3 separate regions of the Homo sapiens genome follow, and all the other regions are linked to region 1. The links are contacts of gene promoters, found by promoter capture Hi-C in blood cells and fetal thymus (Javierre and others, 2016). All regions are on one chromosome and are shown on one strand. Each heading gives the region's core, a stretch centred on a gene start or on the middle of the fragment in contact. The rest is flanking DNA. Distances are from core to core; before and after follow the strand shown. Region 1 holds the start of MXD4 (MAX dimerization protein 4). Region 2 overlaps GRK4 (G protein-coupled receptor kinase 4). Region 3 holds the start of SLC75A1 (solute carrier family 75 member 1).

Region 1 (3,393 bases), core at 432-2,931:
CCAGGCCAGGAGGCTCTGGCCTCTGCATTCCTATAGCCCTGAGCCGTGTGTGGCAGCACTAATCTCCATTCTGCTGAGATTTCTGGGAGACCCCAGCAAATCCCTGAGCGTCTAGTCCCATGTCCTGATCTGCAAGCCGGGCATGCAAAACACAGGGAGATGCACACGAAGCTTTCACAGGAGTCCTGGTGCTGAGGTTTTGCATTTTTTGTTCAGTTTCATTGCCAGCAGCAGCCCCTGTGTCCCACTGAGTACTTCTGGAGGGGTCCAGCCACCTTATGCCTCCACACTCTCCAGCCTGCGGGGCCTGGCCCTTGGCACATCCAGGCCACCAACCTCAAAAATCAAATCAGTGAGATGGGTCGGGCGAGGTGGCTCACACCTGTAATCCCAGAACTTTGGGAGGCCGAGGCGGGCGGATCACGAGGTCAGGAGATCCAGACCATCCATGGTGAAACCCCATCTCTACTAAAAATACAAAAATTAGCTGGGCGTGGTGGCACGCGCCTGTAGTCCCAGCTACTTGGGAGGCTGAGGCAGGGGAATCGCTTGAACCCGGGAGGCGGAGGTTGCAGTGAACTGACATCACGCCACTGCATTCCAGCCTGGGCAACAGAGCCGTCTCAAAAAAAAAAAAAAAAAAAATCTGCGAGAGGGTGGGGGGTGCCGAGGCCAGTCTGGGCCAGCCTTAGGGTCAGGGGTCACTAGGGAGACCCGCCAGCTGGGATTTGATGAAGGGTTCACTCCCGTCCCCACTTAGGGCGTCCTCGGCCAGAGGTGGCCAGCGCCTGCCTCTAGGAACGTCCCTGCCCCTCAGGCCAGACACAGAGCATGCAGCCCCCCACTCCGGGGAGCCTCTCGACTCTGGCCGCACGTCTGTGTCCCTTCCCCAGACCTGGGCCCTCCCTCAGCTCCGGCGTCCACTGGGCGATCTGAGGAGCCCGCCCGCTCTGGGCCTGTTTCCCCACTGACACCCTCAGAGACGCCTGGCTCTTAGGATCAGAGCGTCTGCGTCCCTCTCCGAGGTCCCGGCCCTTCCCGGGGCCACTCTGCGCCCGGCGGGGAGGGGAGTCGTTCACGGCCCCACGCAAGACCCCCGGGCAGAGCGCGAGGCCTCGTCCCCCCACGCAGCCACTGCTTTCGTCGCGCTCAGACCCGGCGGCCCGGCCCGGCCCGGCGCACGCCCCGGAGCGCCCTGCTTCGCTCTCGTAGCGGAGACGCTCCTGCGTCCTAACGGGCCCCCAGGACGGCGGGCGGTCCCCGCGCGCTGCGCTTCCTCTCGGCAACGCGTCCGGCTGCGGCGCCCTCATTGGCCGCGCGCCCCGCCACCGGCCATTGGCTCGCAGTGCCTGTTTTACATAGGCCGCTCTGGCCAATCGGCGCGCGGCGCCTACTTAACATGCACGGCGGCCGCCAGTCAGCTAGCGCGGGGGCCGGGCCACCACGTGCTGTTGCTAAGCTCGGGCTTCTAAATTGTTACTAGCGCGGCCGGCCTATCCCAGCCCAGCTCTGCATCTGTCAACATTCTCGGCCCGGCCCGAGGCGCTCGACCCGTCCCCATTGGCCCCAGCCCGGCCCGGCGCCCGCCCCCGGGGCGCGAACGCCGCCTCCCATTGGCTCTGCGGGCCGCCGCTCTCCCTTATGTGTCAATTTGAGGGCCTGAGGCGGAGGGTGGCGGCCGAGCGCCGGAGTCCGCGGAGTCTGGAAGTGCGGCGGCCGGGCGCGCGGGGTGGGCGGCGAGCGGAGCCGGCCGGAGCGGGCCGGGCAGCGGCCGCCGCCGTCCCGGGGCGGACGGGCGCGGGCGGGAGGATGGAGCTGAACTCCCTGCTGATCCTGCTGGAGGCGGCCGAGTACCTGGAGCGCAGGGATCGAGGTAGCGCTCGCACCCCATTGTGCGCCCGCGGCGGTGGGCGGGCGGCGGGGCCGTGCCGGGCGGGGGCCGCTGACCGCGCCGTGTGTCCGCAGAGGCCGAGCACGGCTACGCCTCGGTGCTGCCCTTCGACGGCGACTTCGCCAGGGAGAAAACAAAGGCGGCCGGCCTGGTGCGCAAGGCCCCGAACAACAGGTACCGCCCCCCGCTCCCGACCCCGCCCGGCCCGGTCCGAACCCCCGCCCCCGCCCGGAGCGTGCTCTCCGGGCCCCGATTCCCGGCCCGCGGCCCTCAGCGCCGCCGCCGCGCGCCCCGGCGGCCAGCCTGGAGGAGGAGGCGCGCAGGCCGCGGCCGCAGCCCCGCCCGGCCGGCCCCGCCCTCGCCGTCGCCATCTTCCCGCGGCCGCGCCTCCCGGGCCGCTCGCGTAAACAGTGCCACGCGTACAGCGCCCGCCGCCGGGGTCCGCTCCCGCGCCCGCTCCCCGCCCCCGAGTTGTTCTGGACTTTTCCAGGCGGTAGAAAAGTTGTCAGCGGGCGCTGGCCGGTGCCCCGTGGGTCTGGGGAAACAGGCTCAGCCAGGGTCTGCGGGGGCTGCCGGCCCTAACCCCTTCTCTCCGCGGGTGGGTGGGCGGCCTCCTTTCGACTGGCTCTGCCAGCCGAACTCTGCTGCTCGGCCACCTTCCCCCGCCCCCAGGAGCCTAGACAGAGAAGCGAGTGGAGGCGCTGTCCTGGGCCCTCACTCCTCCCAGGGTGCCCACCGCTTCTGCCCAGCCTCCTGACACAGCGAAACTCCAGCCACCAGTATGGGGGTCCTCTTTTTTAAGACAGAGGCCTTTTAAGGGGGCGGGAGGAGGGGGCAGGCTGCAGGGCAGGGGCCCCATGAAGTCGTTACTACGGGTGCCAGCTGCGCCCTCCATACCTTGACCTCGTGTTCAGGCAGCAGAAGCCCTGAAGCTGGGGTGCGTACAGGTCCCCCGCGTGGGGAGTGGGGACCCTGGGCCGGGGCTCCCCGGGGATTTCCACCCTCCTGGCTGCTGTGAGGACCATAGCACACCTGGTCCTGTCTGGGCCCACCTTGGCCCAGCCCTTTTGTGTGAGCAGGCTGGGAGCTGCGTTTGTAGGGGGCTTCAGAGCCCCAGGGCATGGCTCATTCCTGTGGTCCACCTGTTCTAGGGAATCCGAAAGGCTGGTGTAGGGACCCATTTCTGTGGCATCCTGAGCCAGGCGAGGAATTGGTTGAGTCTCCAGCTGCCCTGGCTGGGACCCGTCCCTGAGTCCCAGCCCCTGGTCCCCTACTGGGGACAGTTTGGGGAAGGACAGGAGTGTGACGAGGGAACCATTGCCTCAGGCCTCCTCAGTGAGCAAGCCCGGCCCCCGCTGCCGCTTCTCTCCAAACCAAGTCCCTGACCCGTGGAGAACTCTGGGGCGTGAGCTGGGGCTCCCCCAGCATGGAGAATCCAAAGCTGACAACCAGCGTCCTGGCCAAGGCTGCCCGAACACTGCCTCTATGCTGAGCGTTTCACA
Region 2 (3,393 bases), core at 663-3,162, 710 kb before region 1:
TGTGGCAAGGGTGGCTTTGGTGAGGTGGTGGAGGTGAGGACTCAGCACCCAGCATCTAACTGACCCCACACTTGTTTGAAGAGTAAATAACAAGGCCAGGTGCAGTGGCTCACACTTGTAATCCCAGCACTTTGTGAGGCTGAGTTGGGCAGATCACTTGGGTTCAGGAGTTTAAGACCAGCCAGGGCAACATGGTGAAACCCCATCTCTACAAAAAATACAAACATTAGCTGGGGATGGCAGTGTACACCTGTAGTCTTAGCTACTCGGGACGCTGAGGCAGGAGAGCTGCTTGAGCCCGGGAGGTGGAGACTGCAGAGAACCGAGATCATGCTGCTGCACTCCAGCCTGGGTGACAGAGTGAGACCCTGTCTCAAAAAAAAATTTTTTTAAAGAGTAAATAACACACACACACAGCAGCGCACACACTGTGCACCTCTAAACACAGGACTCCCCCTCCGCCCCCGCCACATATGACTAGACCTGGTGGGGCATGAAGCACACACTGCACACTGCAGCTACAAAAGGTCCCCTGGCTTGGTCTAAGGGACAGAGTGTCACAGGTTAAAGAGAGAGAGAGAGAGAAGAAAGGGCCCCCCCCCGCAGGTTTGGGGCACACGTGCTGGTGAACCCTAGCGCCACTCTACCCCTCATTCAGCTGTCCTCAGTTCCAAAAGTCTCCACTGGCACAGCACAGCAGTCTGGTTCCACGTCCCCGCTGTTTGGCCCGGGCCCGGTCATACTCAAAGGTGGGCCGGCTATGCTGTCAATACTACGTAAAGACAAGGAGGCCAGAAGGTGAAGAACCAGGCAGAGCATGATGAGTCGTGGGGCCATGGCGAGGTCAACGGTGGTCGGCAGGGCCACAGGCATTTCAAAGGAGGACCATCCACAGACACTAAAGTCTGGGCAGCATACTGGGTTGAAAACTGTCAGAGGATTCCTCTTAAGTTTTTGAGGTCCCCAAAAGCAGGCAGTAAAGTGGGGCCACAGTGTTTGAAGGCCCAAGGATCCCCTCTATGGGCTGCCTTCATCTGTTTCAGAGGTACCTGTTACAGGTTGAATTCGTCCCATCCTAAAAAACGTTTATGTTAGAGTTCTATTCCCCAGTTAGCCCCTAACCCTCAGACAGTGATCTTATTTGGAGATAGGGTATTTATAGAGACAATTAAGTTAAAATTAGGTCATTAGGGTGGGCCCTAATCCAACATGATTGGTATCCTTATAAAAATGGAAAATTGGACACAGACACACCCACAGAGGGCACGCCACGTGAAGATGAAGACAGATCAGAATGATGCACCTCCAAGCCAGGGGACACCAGAGACTGCCAGCGAGCCAGCAGAGGCTGGGAGAGAGGCCTGCGACAGATTCTTCCTCACAGCCCACAGAAGGAACCAGCTCCACTCACAACTTGATTTTGCACTCCGGCCTCCAAGACTGTGAGACAATAAATGTCTGTTGCGGGAGACATCAGGTTTGTATCACTTTGTTACACAGCCCTAGCAAACTCACACAATACTGTCCTCCCCGCTTTCTTCTTCCTGCTATTCCTGCCAAGTTTCTTTTCCTTCCATTTTTGGGCCACTTCTGCTTCAGATCCAGGCATACCTACCGTGTTCATTTCCTCATCCTTATTCATTCATTCATCCATCAGGTATTTATTGAGAACCTACTATAGGCCACAACATTATGCAAATGACCTCAGAGAAGCATATAAAGGGCTTCATGAGGTGCTGACAGTCCTCTGGCCAATGAAGCAAGCAAAGCTGGGCAAAAGGTGCTGAAACAAGCATGAAGAATCCTACAGATTATTTTGTTTGAGGTAAAGGTAGCAAAGCACAAAAATGTAATATGAGACTATTAATTTGTACTTTGGAAGTAATTTGCATATCAATTAACCACATATTTACTGGAGACTGAATATTGTTACCAAATTAGTCTTTATGACCATGACATAAATGTTAATAAGCAACTTTGCACACATATGTACAAAATACCGTAAATGTTTCTGCTAAAAAGTAACTTAAGAAAGCCCTAATTCTAGAGTTTTTTGAGGAGCTTTAATAAAGCCAAAATGATTTTGACTGTATCATTTTTCTTTAAGGTAACTATTGCCTAATTTGGGTCAAAATATAAAGCTCAAGAACATTCTTTTGGCCAGGCGCGGTGGCTCACACCTGTAATCCCAGCACTTTGGGAGGCCGAGGCGGGCAGATCACAAGGTCAGGAGATCGAGACCATCCTGGCTAACACAGTGAAACTCCATCTCTACTAAAAATGCAAAAAAATTAGCCAGGCATGGCGGCGTGTGCCTGTAGTCCCAGCTGCTGGGGAGGCTGAGACAGGAGAATGGCGTGAACCTGGGAGGCAGAGCTTGCAGTGAGCTGAGATCACGCCACTGCACTCCAGCCTGGGCGACAGAGCGAGACTGACCCCCCCAAAAAAAAAGAACATTTTTTTTTTTTTTTGAGATGGAGTCTCACCGTGTCGCCAGGTTGGAGTGCAGTGGCACGATCTCGGCTCACTGCAACCTCCACCTCCCGGGTTCAAGTGATTCTCCCGCCTCAGCCTCCCGAGTAGCTCGGACTACAGGTGCATGCCACCATGCCTGGCTAATTTTTGTATTTTTAGTAGAGACGGGGTTTCACCATGTTGGCCAGGATTGTCTCGATACCTGGACCTCGTGATCCGCCCGCCTTGGCCTCCCAAAGTGCTGGGATTACAGGCATGAGCCACCGTGCCTGGCCAAGAATATTATTTTATAGTATCAGTGGTATAGATATTTTTGGTCCTAAAGTAGCATAAAGCCAATAACCCAATATTTGATTCACTGACCAAGAAATAAAAATCCTGATTTAAAGCCATTATAATCTAGATAGACAAAGTAGAAAATATAAGAAAACCAAACTGACCTGGTTGCTAATAACCTGGCTGATTGATAGCATCCCAAATTAGCTGTACCATAATGATAGTAACAGACGGTAGACATTATTGCTTAGGGAAAATGGGGTAACCTTTTGTTGGCAGAGAAATAATTTGGCTGACTACTACATAGATTACTTCAAATATCTGACAGATAAGAAATACTAAGTTTATAACTCTTTCTAGAAAACTTGATCTTACATGCTGTTGAAAATTCTAATAGGCCGGGTGTAGTGGTTCACCCTGTAATCCCAGCACTTTGGGAGGCTGAAGTGGGAGGGTAGGATCACTTGAGTCCAGGGGTTCCAGACTAGCCTGGGCAACATAGTGAGACCCCATCTCCACAAAAACCACAAAATTATCTGTGCATGGCAGCGCATGCCTGTGGTCCCAGCCACTTGGGAGTCTGAGACAGGAGGACTGCTTGGCCCCAGAGTTCAAGGCTTTGAGGCTTCAGTAGCTATGATT
Region 3 (3,393 bases), core at 602-3,101, 670 kb before region 1:
GGCCCAACCCTCTTTGGCCAAGCAAAGAGGAAACGAGAACAGGACAGAAAAAAAAGTGGGACCGGACCAGGCACCTGGCTGTCCATTGAGGCCTTGCTATGCGATCCAGGACGGAAGGTGCCGGCAGCAAGCTCATACACTCTAGCTGCGTGTCATGTCATTGAAGAGGGCGCGTGATCCAGCTGGAAGGGTGGATAAAAGTGTAACTGCCCAGTGGGTTCACCTTCCCTGTTACCTAGACAGCCAATTTATCAAGAAAGGGCATTTGCAACAGAGAAAAGGTAATTCACGCAGAGCTAGCTGTGTGGGAGACTGGAGTTTTATTATTACTCGGTCTCCCTGAGCATCTGGGGTTTGGAGTTTTTAAAGATAAGCTGGTGGGTGGGGGGCAGCCAGTGAGTCAGAAGTACCCATTGGTCAGGTCAGAGATGAAATCACAGGGAGTCGAAGCTGTTTTCGCACTGAGTCAGTTCCTGGGTGCCACAACATCAGATGAGCCTGGGTGGTGCCAGGTGACCCACCAAGTGCTGATCTTAGGCTTTACGATGGTGATGTTATCGCCAGGAGCAGTTTGGGGAGGGTCAGAATCCTGTAGCCTCCCGCTGCGTGACTCTTCAACCGTAGTTTCTAATCTTGTGGCTAATCTGTTGGTCCCACAAAAGCAGGCTAATCCCCAGGAAAGGTTTCCTTTGGGAAAGGGCTGTTATCATCTTTGTTTTAAACTAAGTTCCTCCCACAGTTCAACCTGCGTGCAGCAGTAAACAAGGAGGGCATGGAGGTTAGAAGCAAAATGGAGCTGGTTATCTCACTGTCGGCAAATTTTGCAATGGCAGTTTCATAGAGATGCCTGTCCTCTGGGAAAAAAGCTAATAACAGGTTGTCTTTTTGGCTGCAGGTGGAAAACTGCATCTATTAGGAAGAGGTGGGGCTTTGTTCTTACCCACAATTGGAAGTTCTCTATGGAGTAAAGGCGGTATGTGTGCCACCTGATTCCTTTCCCCATGTGTATCTGGTTAGGGTCGGCCACGTGAGATCCGCAAGCATTTTAGAAGGTGGGAGGGGAGGTGGGAGCTGGCTACAGGCCAGGCGTTGGCGTGGTTCCGTGAGTGTGCTCCAGCCAGGCCCAAAGCTTCTCCTGCCCAGAGGGACCGTTTCCTCCAGCGTGGGTCGGGTGCTTCTGCGCCCGGAAAGAGCGCCAGCTCCTCCTTCGGGTGACCCAGGGAGCGGGGCTGCAGGCAAAGGCGCAGGCGGCCAAAAAGGTGCCAACCGGGTCCTGTGGCTTTCAGTTGTCTCTGCCCACCCAATTCACACCATCTTTCCCCCTCAGCCGCCTGTCCTGGGACTTCAGGCTCAGCACCAAACGCAGCAAAAGTAGGTGCACAGAGAGCGGGGTCAGCTCACGCAGCCCGAGCAGAATGGCTGTGCTGCCGCCCCAGGCCCGCGGCCACCGCTGTGTGTGTGGCAGGAGTCAGCCCCCCAGCGTGGGGCCCCGAAGCCCGCGGTCCTTCCACGGGGAGGGCCAGGCCCGCAGGGCGCAGACGATGGGGGACAGGCTGCGCCAGCGCTCGCCTGAGGCCCCGCACACAAACCTCAGGCCCATGGGTCCGCTCCGCGGGGCAGGCGTCGTGGGCCCAAGGAGGCCAGGCCAGGAGTCTCGGCCTCGGGGTTACGCGGCGGCGGGCAGCTCTTCCGCTCCGCTCAGGGTGCTGCTAACCCACAGCCAAGCAGCGACCCGCAGGACCGGCGAGAACCCCGCCACTGACTCCGGCCGGAAGAGAACGTGCAGAGATGTACGTCACTTCCGGGGCGTGGCGTGGCCGGGCGTGGCCGTCCCGCCCCTGGCGGCGTGCCTGGTGCCCTGTTCCGCGTCTGTGCGACCGTCCGTCCCGAGCGCGCAGCCGCGGCAGGTGCGGGGCGGGACCGGGGGCGCCCGGGGTGGGGGGCGTAGGGGGCGCTCGGGTTGGGGGTGGGACAGGGGACGCGCGGGGTGGGGGAGGAGACGGGACCCGGGGTACGCGGGGGTGGGGCGGGTGAGAGGTGCGCAGGGTAGGGGAGTAGGGGGCGCGCGGGGTGTGGGGCTGGACCAGGGGCGCGCGGGGTGGGGGCGGTGGGAGGCGCGCGGCGTGGGGGTTAGAGGGCGCGCAGGGTGGGGGACGGGACCGGGGACGCGCAGGGTGGGGGGCGGGACCGGGGGCGCGCGGGGTGGGGGCGGGACCGGGACGCACGCGGGATGGCGGAGTGGGAGGCGCGCGGGGTTGGGGGTGCTCCTGCGTCCGGTGTGCACCCCATGGCCCCCGCCAGGGAGACCGAGTCCGGGCCAGGGGCCGGAATCGCGGGGCGCGGGCCGGGGCTGGGGTTGGGGTTGGGATCGGGATCGGGATCGGGATCGGGATCCGGGTTCCCCGCGGCTTCAAGTTTTCTCTCGCTGTTACGAGGGCGTGGGAGGCGCGGCCGTGGGGTGGGGTGGGGCCAGGTCCGCGATGTGCTCACCCTGGTCTCTCAGGACCGTTGCCTTTGCGGCTATTTTTTGTGCAATCCCCGAAGCCTGCGTTTCCTGCTGCCTGGGTTCGGGGCGGGGGCATCGCGCAGGCCAGAACGGCCCCTGCGTCCGTAGGCCAGAGCCCCTGCCATCAGCCCCTTTAGGGTGCTCGCCGGCTGTCGGGTGTGGGGGTATGCCAGGCCCCGGAGGACTCGGCTTCCCCGCTAACCCGACCCGCCGCACCCCACCCAGGCCAGGTCAGAGCAGCCCACCATGGGATGGGGAGGGGGTGGAGGCTGCACCCCGCGCCCACCCATCCACCAGCAGCCGCCGGAGCGCCGCGTGGTCACCGTTGTCTTTCTCGGCCTCCTGCTGGACCTCCTGGCCTTCACGCTGCTGCTGCCCCTGCTGCCCGGGCTGTTGGAGAGCCACGGCCGTGCCCACGTGAGTCCTTGCCCTGCGGCCCACAGTGCCCCCTGCCCCCCAGGCCCATCAGACCTCCCCAGCCCTTATCGTGATTCCTCATCCCCTAGGACCCCCTCTATGGCTCCTGGCAGGGCGGGGTGGACTGGTTTGCCACCGCCATCGGGATGCCAGTGGAGAAGAGGTACAACAGTGTCCTGTTCGGAGGTATGGCTGGCTCTGTGCCCTTGGCGGGCTCTCTACGGTCCTATGTTTGGTGGACGTGGTCCAGCCCAGGCCCCTCCCCAATTCTCGGTCCTTGCCTTCCCACTCCCTGGGCTGGCATGTCTGGTGCCCTTGCCCACATGTCCTGGCTTCTGGGCATGATCCCTTGCCTCCGCGTGTCACGTTCAGATCCTTCCTCATCTCTCCATTGGGGCCCCCTCGGCTCAAGGGCCATGGCCTGTGAGTGTAGGGCCCAGCATGACTGGACCCTCAGGACGGGGCTGGAC

What was found. The method cuts DNA at HindIII sites, captures the fragments that hold promoters and counts their contacts. A CHiCAGO score of 5 or more calls a contact.
Region 2: a fragment that was not itself captured here is called in contact with the fragment with the promoter of MXD4 in region 1 in 1 of 17 cell types (neutrophils); the score reaches 7.3 in neutrophils.
Region 3: the fragment with the promoter of SLC75A1 here is called in contact with the fragment with the promoter of MXD4 in region 1 in 1 of 17 cell types (neutrophils); the score reaches 5.8 in neutrophils.

What each region holds. Positions count from the first base shown.
Region 1 is chr4:2,260,397-2,263,789 of GRCh38, reverse strand. It overlaps MXD4 (MAX dimerization protein 4), which reads left to right and starts at 1,681. Exons shown (of 6, transcript NM_006454.3): 1 at 1,681-1,873; 2 at 1,966-2,065. The coding sequence starts at 1,810. RefSeq lists enhancers at 9-668, 669-1,330, 2,562-3,154 and silencers at 962-1,801, 1,852-1,911, 2,002-2,391, 2,402-2,461. The HindIII fragment of the contact is 4,464 bases long and covers 174-3,393 here.
Region 2 is chr4:2,969,735-2,973,127 of GRCh38, reverse strand. The region is part of intron 1 of GRK4 (G protein-coupled receptor kinase 4); the gene reads right to left. Among named protein-coding and RNA genes, the nearest start is that of GRK4, 7.9 kb to the right of the region's middle. The HindIII fragment of the contact is 6,083 bases long and covers 1-3,393 here.
Region 3 is chr4:2,933,283-2,936,675 of GRCh38, reverse strand. It overlaps SLC75A1 (solute carrier family 75 member 1), which reads left to right and starts at 1,851. Exons shown (of 13, transcript NM_001146069.2): 1 at 1,851-1,907; 2 at 2,732-2,923; 3 at 3,013-3,109. The coding sequence starts at 2,753. It overlaps NOP14-AS1 (NOP14 antisense RNA 1), which reads right to left and starts at 1,130. Exons shown (of 4, transcript NR_015453.2): 1 at 1-1,130. RefSeq lists enhancers at 1-11, 1-1,013, 2,271-3,138, 3,231-3,360, 3,381-3,393 and silencers at 1,402-1,511, 1,672-1,981, 2,211-2,430. The HindIII fragment of the contact is 5,918 bases long and covers 1,132-3,393 here.